Linked DNA regions of Homo sapiens: region 1 is linked to region 2. The links are contacts of gene promoters, found by promoter capture Hi-C in blood cells and fetal thymus (Javierre and others, 2016). All regions are on one chromosome and are shown on one strand. The core of a region is centred on a gene start or on the middle of the fragment in contact, and the rest is flanking DNA. Distances in the headings are between cores, read along the strand shown. Region 1 overlaps HMGCR (3-hydroxy-3-methylglutaryl-CoA reductase). Region 2 holds the start of FAM169A (family with sequence similarity 169 member A).

Region 1 (6,369 bases), core at 2,648-5,147, 480 kb after region 2:
CTGCCTCAGCCTCCTGAGTAGCTGGGATTACAGGCACCTGCCACCATGCCCATTTAATTTGTGTATTTTTGGTAGAGACTGTGTTTCGCCATGTTGGTCAGGCTGGTGTCAAACTCCTGACCTCAAGTGATCCGCCTGCCTTGGCCTCCCAAAGTGCTGGGATTATAGGCGTGAGCCACTGTGCCCGGCCTCCATGTCCTTAATGTTAAACTAAATTGTTTGTAATGGCTATATGTATTCTCTTCTGTCTAAACGTCTTGTAGTTTATTAATCATCTAATGTTGGACTGTTAGGTTATGTAATTTTTTTTATTAATAACAACACTGTGATGAATGTCTTTGTAACGAAATTTTTGTTCATATTTGTAATCATTTTCTTAAGATACATTCCTAGAAGTGAGACAGTGGTTTTGCTTTTTTTAGAGCTTTGCTTTTTTTTTTTTAAGAGCTTTTTAGTGCTATTATTGCCAATTTAGTTTACAGAAAGTTTGTTTAGTTTATCCTTCCACAGGTAGTGATCAATGAAAATTTTTATATATTCCACTTTTTTTCCCTAATGGTAATCCAAGGAGATATTTTTTACTAAGGATGATACTTTGATACAAAATTATCAAAAGGTGTTTAAATGTAAATATACTTACATTTTAACATTAAAAATATTTTTAACAAATATTTTGAGCAACTACTATGTTTAGCTTTGAGGATGCCAAAGAAATATAGGGTATACTTTTTTGTCTGCAGAAAGGTACACATACTACAGGATCATACAGTATGGAGGGGGAAAGGTTTTGTTCTAAAAAGAATTTTTTTAAAATCATACTTTTTCCCGTTAAATTTATCTGATCATTTTGTTCTTTTCCAGTGAAGCTTTGCCCTTTTTCCTACTTTTGATTGACCTTTCCAGAGCAAGCACATTAGCAAAGTTTGCCCTCAGTTCCAACTCACAGGTAAGTATTATTTATAAGATAGGAATGTGAATAGTATTCCTTTTTTCAGTTTACATTAATAGGAAGGATTAATAGCGTTTCTTCATAGCACAAGATTTAAGAATTGCCCAAAGTTTTAAGTTTAATTCTCAAGTCCCAAGACTGGTCTCCATAAGTGCCCCAGGAACAGTCCCCTGTATCTAACAACTCAATTATGATTCTGTAGCTACTGGAATTTGGAATTGCCCCCATTTTTCTTTTTGAAAGTTTTCAGAACTTATGGTAATAATAATTTTTGGGTAAATAAGAGTATTTTCCTAGTGAAACACATCAGAGAGCAGAACAAGATCTAATGGAAGAGAAACCCAGGGTAGATTGATTGATTGATTGATTTGAGATGTAGTCTCACTCTGTCACCCAGGCTGGAGTGCAGTGGCGAGATCTTGGCTCACCACAACCTTCGCCTCCTGGTTTCGAGGGATTCTTCTGCCTCAGCCACCTGAGTAGCTGGGATTACACATGTGCACCACCATCCCCGGCTAATTTTTGTGTTTTCAGTAGAGACGGAGTTTTGCCATGTTGGCCAGACTGGTCTTTAATTTCTGACCTCAAGTGATCCACCCGCCTCAGCCTCCCAAAGTGGTGGGATTATAGGTGTGAGCCACTGCACCTGGCCAGATTTATTTTTAAACCCCTTAAATTAACACTGGCATTATTTCCTATTTTAAGTTTCATCTTAATGTTCATTAGTCACTTTGAAGAACCTAACCATTTTAACAATATTATATCAGAGTATCTTGAGTATAAAATAGCACACAATTCTGCCCTGATTATTTGTTGATGAAAGTGTGTGATCATTTGAACATATTAACAAGGAAATAAGTTTGGTTTTATTAATACTAATATGATCTCATAAAATTTGCAACTAAGCTTCTGTCATGGTAGGTAAAAATATAGAATGTTGTAGGATTTAATTATGTGTGATTTAAATGACAGAGTTAATGCACTACCTCAAAGGAATATTCCTAACAAATATCTTATTCAGTGGAAAGGGAATCAGGGCACTATATGTTCTTTTTTAAAAATTTGGCTGGGCGCAGTGGCTCACACCTGTAATTCCAGCACTTCGGGAGGCCGAGGTGGGCAGATCACCTGAGGTCAGGAGCTCCAGACCAGCCTGGCCAACCTGGTGAAACCCAGTCTCTACTAAAAATACAAAAATTAGCTGGGCATGGTGGCGGGTGCCTGTAATCCCAGCTACTCGGGAGGCTGAGGCAGGAGAATTGCTTGAACCCAGGAGGCAGAGGTTGCAGTGAACCAAGATCACACCATTGCACATTGCACTCCAGCCTGGGAAACAAAGTGAGACTACATCTCAAAAAAAAATTTTTTAAAATCCTTTATATTACAATCATACTTTGTATCTTGAATACCTGTTAGTTTTATCATATTGTATATTTTACTCTTTGAATAGTAATTTGATATTAATATAAGCCATAGGATGCTCTAACATTTAAAAAAGTTGTTCTGTCCCTTGCCTTCATTGATATGTTTGATCTGTTTTAGGATGAAGTAAGGGAAAATATTGCTCGTGGAATGGCAATTTTAGGTCCTACGTTTACCCTCGATGCTCTTGTTGAATGTCTTGTGATTGGAGTTGGTACCATGTCAGGTTTGTAAGCAATTTTTGCCATATTTTAAAATAGGTATGTCGCTAAAGAGGAAAAAGAACATCTTGGATTTGTATTATTTATTGTTAAATTCTGACTTTTAAATTACTCTTAAAATTTTTTATTATATTAGTGTGTGGGTATATCTGGCCTGTTTGCTTTGGTGGAAACTTAGCAGCAGGTTACTGATTTATTTTTCACTCCTGCCATCCTCTCTTTGTGTTCCACTTTGTGATATTTTTATTCATTTGATTTCTTTTGTTTGTTTTTTTAACCAACATTGCATTCCAAGGTTGGTCTGGAAAACACTTTCCAGCCCCTGCTGTTACTTAGACTCAATTGGTGACTTGGTTCTTTGTGTTTTAATTATCATGTAGGGAGAAAAGAGTCAGGAATTGGACAGATCTGAGTAAGATTCACCTAATAAGGTGATTGGAAATATTTAATCCGATAGTAAGCAGTACATCTCAGCAAGTACCCAGCATTAGCTTCAACACATGTTTCTTCATTCTTAATTGGATAGTAGAGAATTAGATATTAATATCAAACATAGGACTTCATTATGTAGAATAAAAATTACAGACTGGCATGGAAATTTGCCAGAAGGAATATATTACGCTGTGTGAAGGTCTCCTAATCATTAGGATTATATTTTATGGCTTTCTTATAAAGACCATACTTGGTTAACTACTGTGTATTTCCTGGTACCTTAGAGCCCTCAATGAGATGCCTCATTCTTTCAGAAGTAAATTATCTAACTTTTAAGGGGGTAAATTATTGTCATTAGTTTAGGCCTCTTCAGTAGATAGTATATTAAAAATGTAATATTGCTTCTAACTTTCTGAGAGCAAATTATTATTTATTTATTTTATTCAACAAAGATTTTATTTAGCAAATAAAATATTTTTTAATTTTAAAAATTTACTTACTTTAAAATTTACTTTTGGGAGTACAATTTTATGAGTTTTGACAATGACATAGTCTTGTAACCACCACTACACTCAAGAAAAAATGTTGATCAGGTGAAAATGTACTTGTTTGATTTTATTCAAGCAAAAGAATATATGAGAAGGGGATTCGCCAGGAAGTAATAGTTGGGCCATGAAACCATGGGATTATTCATTGAAATAATAATGATGTGGAAAGCAGCTGGGCGATGAGTTTTGTCATGATATGGTCAGAGAAGTAGACAAAGGAAGTGATTAGATTTGTGGTTGGAGAAGACAGTGAGACATTTACAGCTATACAGAAATGGTATAATTAGAGATTTGGGTTACGGTAAAAAAGGACAGATTTAACACATATTAACTTGGAAGTAACCCTTTGAAAAAGCCAGTACAAAAAGAAGAAAGTCTTAGCTTCTTGGATGTCTGTGGATTGGTGCTGTTTCTTTGTGTGTAGAGAGACTTATCTGGGGACACAGTAAGGAAGAATGCCTGGAGAGCATATGGCAACAACATGAGTGAATATTGTGCAGAGAGAAATAGTAGATAGTCAAGTCATGAAAGCATTGGTCAAGTATGGTTTTAATGGCCTCAAGTTTGAAAAGATTATATTCAGCTACTATTTAAAATGTAGTTTGATTTATAATGCTTTTGTTATTGTGATTTTGTAGTCTCTTGAATTTCCACATTTGAGGGTAATCGTGGAATTAAAAAAATACAATATATGCTTGTTCTAGTCAGTCAAATGATATCTTAAAATTTAGGTAATAAAATACAACTTTGAGTTTTTGTGAGCAGTTTTTATAGGACAATTTAAATTTATGTTTCAAAGCATTGGGAATTAAAAAAATACAATATATGCTTGTTCTAGTCAGTCAAATTATATCTTAAAATGTAGGTAATAAAATAAAACTTTGAGTTTTTGTGAGCAGTTTTTATAGGACAATTCAAATTTGTGTTTCAAAGCATTGTTATGTTTGAGCGACATCAGAAATATGTTTTATATTATACTCAAGTTTATTTGTAAAGTGAGGGAGAAGGATTTGGTGGTCATCTAAGGTCTCTTCTAGCCTCTATAATTCTGTTTTCTATTTGAGATCACCAAATGATACCTTAAACAGTTGTAGTACAATATGTTTGTTAATTTTTAGTCTTAAGTTGGCATTTTGTATTATATCATTTTCCAAACAGATCAATGAAATAACCAAAATTATAAGAACTTCAGTAGGCATCATAGAGGTTATATTGAAATTAGAGTTTGTTGGTACACAAAAAATATTATTTTGACCTTATATCAGGACTGGCATAACTGGCAGGATATTCTACTTATATAAAAAATCCTTGGTTAATTGGCAAATTGCTTTTCTCCTAACAAGTGGGATTAGATCAATAGTGTCACTGGGGTTTTGCTCTGTTAGAGTAGCCTGTCCTCTCCTTATTTAATAATAAGGCACTACTGCTTGACAAAAAGGAATTGGAAACACATATGTTTTATCAATTGTGTATTAAACACTACCATTCTGCCTGGCATTGTGATATGGGGACATGAGAGAAGGCAAGAGCTTTGCTCTTGAGGGACTTAGAGTTCTGTTGTTATTCCTGCTGTTTCCTAAGGCTTGGCATCACCTCTAAGTTGCTAATTCTATTTCCAGTAAGTGGCAAGGAGCTTAATGTACTAATATTTTCATGTTTTGTCCACCTGCAGGAAGACAAATATATCCTTGTGATATATGCAGCATAAAAAATAACGTAGACTTTACTAGTTGTATCTTTAATTTTTCTCTAACCAGGGGTACGTCAGCTTGAAATTATGTGCTGCTTTGGCTGCATGTCAGTTCTTGCCAACTACTTCGTGTTCATGACTTTCTTCCCAGCTTGTGTGTCCTTGGTATTAGAGGTAAGACCAATTCTTACATATGGCACTAGTAGAAGAGTAAGATTTCTGCTTACACAGTTTACCTAAACAGAATCAATACCTTCTAATGTCACACTGACTTAATTTGTAGCTTTCTCGGGAAAGCCGCGAGGGTCGTCCAATTTGGCAGCTCAGCCATTTTGCCCGAGTTTTAGAAGAAGAAGAAAATAAGCCGAATCCTGTAACTCAGAGGGTCAAGATGATTATGGTAATGACATGGTTTTCTTCTTCTTTTAGTATCCTCAGTTCCAATCTCATTATTTTTAAGATTTCTTTTTTTCTACAATTTTGGCCCATTCAATGATATTGCACCCCCTTCTTCCTTTTTTTCTTAATGTGTTCATTTCTTTGAGGCTCCTGGTCTTTATTAGCCCCTCTCTCCTAAACAGACTTTTTAAGTTCCCCCACCTTATCTCTCGTTGAAAGCCTGTTCTTTGGGGTGTTTTCAGTAGTTCAGTGGGGTCACTACTTTAGTTAGTTGCATAGCAAGCTTGGGGCTTTTTTTTTTTCATGGTAAGGGGAAGCTATGAGAGATAATGTCTGGCTGTCCAGTTGCTAGGGATAAGAAATTTAAGTTCTATTGATATGCAGAGGATACATTACTTTAAAAATTTTATTTCAGTCTCTAGGCTTGGTTCTTGTTCATGCTCACAGTCGCTGGATAGCTGATCCTTCTCCTCAAAACAGTACAGCAGATACTTCTAAGGTTTCATTAGGACTGGATGAAAATGTGTCCAAGAGAATTGAACCAAGTGTTTCCCTCTGGCAGTTTTATCTCTCTAAGTAAGTTAATTGAAATCTACTTTGTGATATATTAATCATAACACTCTATGCTAATGTAAGTTTAGATTGTGTCCTTTACATTTCTGAATAAGATTTTAATTTGCTTTCTTTTATTTAGAATGATCAGCATGG
Region 2 (6,339 bases), core at 680-3,179:
GACCTCGTGATCCACCCGCTCTGGCCTCCCAAAGTGTTGGGAAAACAGGTGTGAGCCACCGCACCCGGCCTATATCCCATCTTTATTAAATAAATACCACTTGTAATGACATGAATACTATCTCAAAGGTCAGACTAATTTGAAGCCTTTTAGAACCTAAAATCCACAGGTAAAACACCTTAATTTATGGTCACTCATGTGGAAGGTCAATGTTGCTACTCACATAAGCTATTTCTAAGTTCCCCAAACAGATCCCCATCATTAACTTAGAGAAAAGTCCACTATAATAGCTACAAGATTTCTGTGAAAGACGATCATGTTTTATCTTTGTTTGCGCTTCAAGTGTTAGGATAAACGGACTTTTCCCAGGTGCCTCTCACCATCTCATTCCTTGCCTTTCCTCCAAAACAAGCAAAACTAAAACACTAAAAATTTTAGTCTGGTCCATACTAGTCAATAAAAATCTTTCCTCTTGTAAACACTTTATAGCACGATAAGGGACGTAGTTTGCAAAGATCATCTGTACATCCTGTGTAAAAAATAAAAACGCATGGCACACCAAACCCAGATCCACTTCGGTGAATTCCCTCCAGGGCCCAAATGTGTGCATTATGCAACAGCCAGCACTCCCGATTGTAATCCCTGTCTGTGATGCAATGACAAAATATAAATGGCTTGGGTATAATCTGCTCAGTTCGTAAGTAGTAATTCGCAAGAAGCCAACGAATTAAAAGAATTCCCAAATTCTCAGGAACCTTGAAAATGACAAATTGTGTCACAGTTCTGTGAGAATCACAATGAAAACTTTCCCTTCTGGAAATTTTTTAGAAATATGTCCCTCCGGTCCCAATCCCCCAAAAACCCGTACACACGTTTTAATTTACGTTAGGAACGGCTCTCCCAGCGGGGGAAGGTGACCTGCATCAGGTGGTTATCTTCGAATCCACCCGATACGATACCCACGCCGCTTCCCAGACGCTGAAAAGCCAGTGAGATGCTTCATCCTTTCTCCCCAAGGACAGTCATGGGAGTCAGTGTAATCCAGACCCCCGAGCCATAAACCACCCAGGGTTCAAGGCTTCACCTCCTGAGGCACAGGCCTCTTGAAAAATGGCATAATGGAGAGCTGAGAACACAATTAGGACAAAACTGCAACGACCAGCATTCCAGAGGAGGGAGAATCATACAATATCTGTTCCAAAAGTAGTTACAGGTAAAGGAAGGCGGTCAGAGCATCTCTGGAGGCCACCTGGTCGGGTGAACCGAGTCTAAACGCTGAAGTTCCACACCTCCCCGAGTCCGCGTCTCCCCAAGCCAAAGCAATCAGCTCGCACGCCAAGCATCCAGGTGGGGAGAGGGCGAGGGGAGGGGGCGGCAAGCCGCAGCTGCGAACCGGCCCGCGGCGGAGGCGAGCGAAGACGGGCATTCCCTCACACAAAATGGTGGCGCCGAGGCGGAGGCCGGCGCACCTGGGGGCGCCACACGCCCTACGGGATCCCCGCAGACCGCCGCCAGCTGGACGCGAGCCCCGGGTCCAGGCGGCCCGCACTGGTCTGCGCCAGGCCCAGCCCGCAGGGGCCGCCCACAGCCGGTGGCCCGCGTCGCCGCTCGGTGTCCGCGGGTCTGGTGCTGGCGGGGGCGCGGGGCCCGGCGCGGCCGTCTCGGCCTCACCCAGCGGTCCGCGCCGGGGAGAGGGAGCGCACTCACCTCAGACGCGCCCCGGGAGCCGCTGGAAGAGCCCGGGAAAGGAGGCGGAGCCGCGCGAATGAATGGAGCCGGCGGCTGCTCGCTGGCGACCTCCGGCCGGTCCCAGGCCGCACAGCTCGCGGCTGCCAGGGCGAGTGCGGCTGCCTCCCGCTCGCCCCGGACGCCCGGCTCCTCGTCGCGGGTCGGCCGCGGCCCACCGTGCCCTCCGACGACGTGACGCACTAGCGCCGCAGCGCCTCCAGCCTTCGCTTCCGCTCCGCGCCCGCGCCCACCGCGAATCCCCCCGCCCGCCAGCGCGGAGCGGCCCCTCCTCGGAGCCTGGGACGCCGCCCTGCCTCCCTCCAGCCCCGGCTTTCAGGCGCCGGCCCGGCAGGTGCGGGCTTGGCCAGCCCGGGGGCGTCACGCGGCCCCCGCCTCGCCACCCGCGCCCCCTCTCTCCGCCCCGGCCGCCGTCACCCGGCAGCGCGACGCCCAGCTCAGGGCAATGGCCTGGTATTAAAGAGTGACCTTGGCTTAGATATAAAAATAGATGCGGTTAAGCCGCGGGGGCTGCAACGCTGATTTTGCGTATTCCTTTAATGCCGACCTTCGCAGGATTCTGTTCGCATAGCCCGGTGGAGTTCTCCAGCCCCGCGTAGGCCCTCCTGAAATTTACCCAGAGTGGGCGCGGCCATCCCGGCCTCGGGACAGGGGTGCAGAGGGCACGGGCGAGGACCGCCGGCCTCCGCCCCACCACTTTCATCCTAAACCTACTGCCACTTAGGTGCATGCAAGTTAGAATCGTGGGCTGCTTTCACAGTCTACAGAAGTCCTAGAGCCCGGACTTTCATCTGGAGATGTCAGGGAAATACCACATTCCTGCGCTGACCTTTTCTCTTTCACCGTTTAACCGGTACAGAATAACCCTGACCCAGAAAGACAACAGGGTTCCATCCGGCTTTCCTCCCGTGCCTCTCCCAGCTCTATTCTACCGTCTTATGGCCTCTGGCGCCTTTGCTAATTACACACTCCTACTGAAAATTAGCCCTCCAGCATTTAAAACATGATAAATTGTCTTTAAGGTAATGCGTATTGTAGTCTAAATATATTTAATAACTGTATTGAGAAACAATATTGTATCTAAGTATTAATGTCAAGACTTTCTTTTACTCATCATCCAAGAACCGTAGTATTATGTTCAGCTCATCCAGAAAAGTTGAAAATTGCTTCTTTCATTCCTGGGAAATATTTAGCAATCACAATACCAACTTTCACGAATTTACTAATGATTAGCAAAATTAGCAAGATCAAAAAATACTTCAAAGAATGCTTGTTGATATAGATATATTTGACCCTGATTTTTAAAAAAAGCTTTTCTGCCATATAAGAATCTATTGTTTCATTTGTATAATATTTAATTAGCCAAAATCTTTACTATTACACATCATTTACCATTTTAATGAAACTTAATGAATTAGATTTAATAGAGCAGGAATTTTGGGTAGTTGGGTTCTACCCATAGCCAGTGATGAATGAAATTATATGACTTGTATTTACATTTCTAGAGCTATGTGTAAGTAGGAGTCCCCAGGGTAATCCCAAACAATTGCCATTTGGGGAAGCTTTGGCTACCAGACTATGCCCTACAGATGTTGAAGCCTCAGGCCTTAGTGTAAAGCTAACCAATACAACTTGTTGATAATATTTGAAATGCCTGGGTGTGATTGACTCTTAGCTATTGTTTTAGAAGTATGCGGGTATTTGTGCCTGGGTCAGGGAGGCCTGGCTCCCAGATGTCTGGCTATTCTGGTAGGAGACAGAACTACATTCACCCAGACCTATAAAAGAAAAGGTCCAATTTTTTTTTTTTTTTTTTTTTTTTTTTTTGAGACAGGGTTTCACTCCCACAGCCTAGGCAGGCTGGAATGCAATGGCGCGATCTCGACTCACTGCAACCTCTGCCTCCCAAGCTCAAGCGATTCTCCGGCGTCAGCCTCCGGAAGAGCTGGGACAGAGGTGCACACCAACGCACCTCGCTAATTTTTGTAGAGACGGAGTTTCGCCATGCTGCCCAGGCTGGTCCTGAACTTCTGAGCTCAAGCGATCCGCCCGCCTCGGCCTCCCAAAGTGCTGGGATTACAGGCGTGAGCCACTGCGCCAGGCCTGATTCTCTTTTCCCTACTTGCAAATGACACTATTTTTGAGAGTTTTTGGTTTTTTCTTTTTAAATCACCATTGACTTCCCTCTTTGGCTGAGATAAATTTTGCTTATCTTAGTGGGCAAAGAACAACAACTAAAAACATGAGCCTTTGTCAGATTAGTATATGCTGAAAATTGTTACCACAATATTTTGAAATATGCTTTGAGGCTTTTTTCTGAACCGTTTTTAGAGTAAAAGGATTATTGCTTTGGTTTTTGTTTTTGCAATGCTTGCTTTAATTATTACTTTGTTATTAGCAAAGGAAACATGTTAAGAGTTCGTTCTGATTGTATTTTTCCTCTATGTTTAAAGAGGAGTGGAACCATCTTAAGTAAAAGAAGCTTGCCACAACCCTGGATTTTGGAGGTTACTAATACACATGACCCAGAAAAGAGCTCTTTAGTTGCACTGGGGAAGAGGAATTCTTAATAGCTAAAATCATAACTGATGTTTTTGACAGCTAACAAATTGCCAGGCACTCTACAGACTTCTTTATGGAAATTAATTCACTTAATCCTCTTACCATCCTTGCAGGTATACACTGTTACCCCCAGTTTACCTAAGAGGAGTCTTGAGGCACACAGAGAAACTAAGCAATTTGCCCATGGTCACACAGATAGTAATCCTAGCATGTTGGCTCAAGAGCACACTCCCTTAACCAGAATTCCATACTGCCTTAAATGTGCACAAAATCCTATACCATATGGATAGATTTTGCTTTTGAAGCCCTAAAACATACTAAATGTCCTATACTTTCAAGTTTAAATAATTTCTTAGATCTAGTATTTTCCCAGACAGGAAGGAAGAATTAAAACTAGTTACAAGTTTACAAGTTAGAAAGAAAACTTGTAAAAACTTCCTCTGGTATATACTAAGCAAAATTTTATAATCTGTTAGTTTTTGAAAAACACATTTTTCATTTTTACATCATTTAAGTGTAATTGCTCTCCAAGTCCCGTCCCCCAGTTCCAGGGCATAATTACAAGTTTTCATTCTGTTTATTTAGCGCGTGGAAAAGACACATTTCCTTAGAAAGATTTATCATCATCTTTGACACTCCAATAAGACATAAATATGTTGGGAACAGGCCCCCCCAAAATCTCGCCATCAACTGGCCCCAAAACTGGCCATAAACAAAATCTTTGCACCACTGTGACATGTTCGTGATGGCCGTGACGCCCACGCTGGAAGGTTGTGGGTTTACCAGAATGAGGGCAAGGAACACCTGGCCCACCCAGGGCGGAAAACCGCTTAAAGGCGTTCTTAAACCACAAACGATAGCATGAGCGACCTGTGCCTGGACATGCCCCTGCTACAGATAACTAGCCAGAGCCCATCCCTTTATTTCAGCCCATCCCTTGTTTCCTGTAAGGAATACTTTTAGTTAATCTATAATCTATAGAAACAATGCTTATCACTGGCTTGCTGTCAATAAATATGTGGGTAAATCTCTGTTTGAGGCTCTCAGCTCTGAAGGCTGTAAGACCCCTGATTTACCACTCCACACCTCTGTATTTCTGTGTGTGTCTTTAATTCCTCTAGCGCCCCTGGGCCAGGGTCTCCCCAGCTGAGCTGGTCTCGGCATAAATGGGTAGATTTAGAATCCATCATATGTTTTAAATACATAAAATCACAGGGATTTTTTTTTTTTTGAGACTGAGTCTCACTGTGACGCCCAGGCTAGAGTGCAGTGGTGTGATCTCTGCTCACTGCAATCTCCGCCTCTTAGGTTCAAGCAATTCTCCTGCCTCAGCCTCCTGAGTAGCTGGGATTGCAGGCACGCACCACTATGCCCGGTTAATTTTTTGTATTTTTAGTAGAGATGGTGTTTCACCATGTTGGTCAGGCTGGTCTCGAACTCCTGACCTTGTGATCCACCCGCCTTGGCCTCCCAAAGTGCTGGGATTACAAGCGTGAGCCACAGGAGAACATTTTAATAACTGAGGTAGCCCAGGGATTTCTAGATTGAAACTATTAGCCAGTCAGCTAACTAGTTAGCTAATAATATCAGCCATGGCAATGTAGAAAGACAATCTTACCTGCAGGCACTAAAAGACGAAAAAGGACAGCTATCCTAGAATGCTTGATTTCTTCCTTTGGTATGTAAGAAAACATGTCACAGGAATGCTTTCAGAATTAAAAGCAGTGTTTTGACTGAGTTTTATTGGTCAAACACTACTATAACTGCAGATTTCAAATTCCTGAGTGATACTGTGCCCTGGGGGGAGAAAAGAACCTGAAGAAAAGAGAAATAAGTTTGAGAAGCCCAGTTGCATTTGTCTTGCTGCTTGATTTGCTTTAATATGTGGTAGAAGGACAGAGAATTTGGTAAGTTTAGTTTAGGTTTAAAAGAAATAAAATGTACAGTTTTTCATATTGTTAATGAAAAATCACATACATATTTACATCCATGGTAGGTACTGCAAGTTGCTTAATTAATATCCATTCTCTT

What was found. The method cuts DNA at HindIII sites, captures the fragments that hold promoters and counts their contacts. A CHiCAGO score of 5 or more calls a contact.
Region 1: a contact is called between a fragment that was not itself captured here and the fragment with the promoter of FAM169A in region 2, in 1 of 17 cell types (naive CD8 T cells). The highest score is 6.2, in naive CD8 T cells.

What each region holds. Positions count from the first base shown.
Region 1 is chr5:75,344,713-75,351,081 of GRCh38, forward strand. It overlaps HMGCR (3-hydroxy-3-methylglutaryl-CoA reductase), which reads left to right. Exons shown (of 20, transcript NM_000859.3): 5 at 862-946; 6 at 2,492-2,597; 7 at 5,330-5,436; 8 at 5,546-5,662; 9 at 6,077-6,237; 10 at 6,356-6,369. Among named protein-coding and RNA genes, the nearest start is that of HMGCR, 11 kb to the left of the region's middle. The HindIII fragment of the contact is 4,089 bases long and covers 1,854-5,942 here.
Region 2 is chr5:74,864,458-74,870,796 of GRCh38, forward strand. It overlaps FAM169A (family with sequence similarity 169 member A), which reads right to left and starts at 1,930. Exons shown (of 13, transcript NM_001376049.1): 1 at 1,708-1,930. FAM169A-AS1 (FAM169A antisense RNA 1) reads left to right here and starts at 1,436. Exons shown (of 1, transcript NR_134288.1): 1 at 1,436-2,818. RefSeq lists silencers at 1,377-1,546, 1,617-1,866. The HindIII fragment of the contact is 5,081 bases long and covers 1-3,055 here.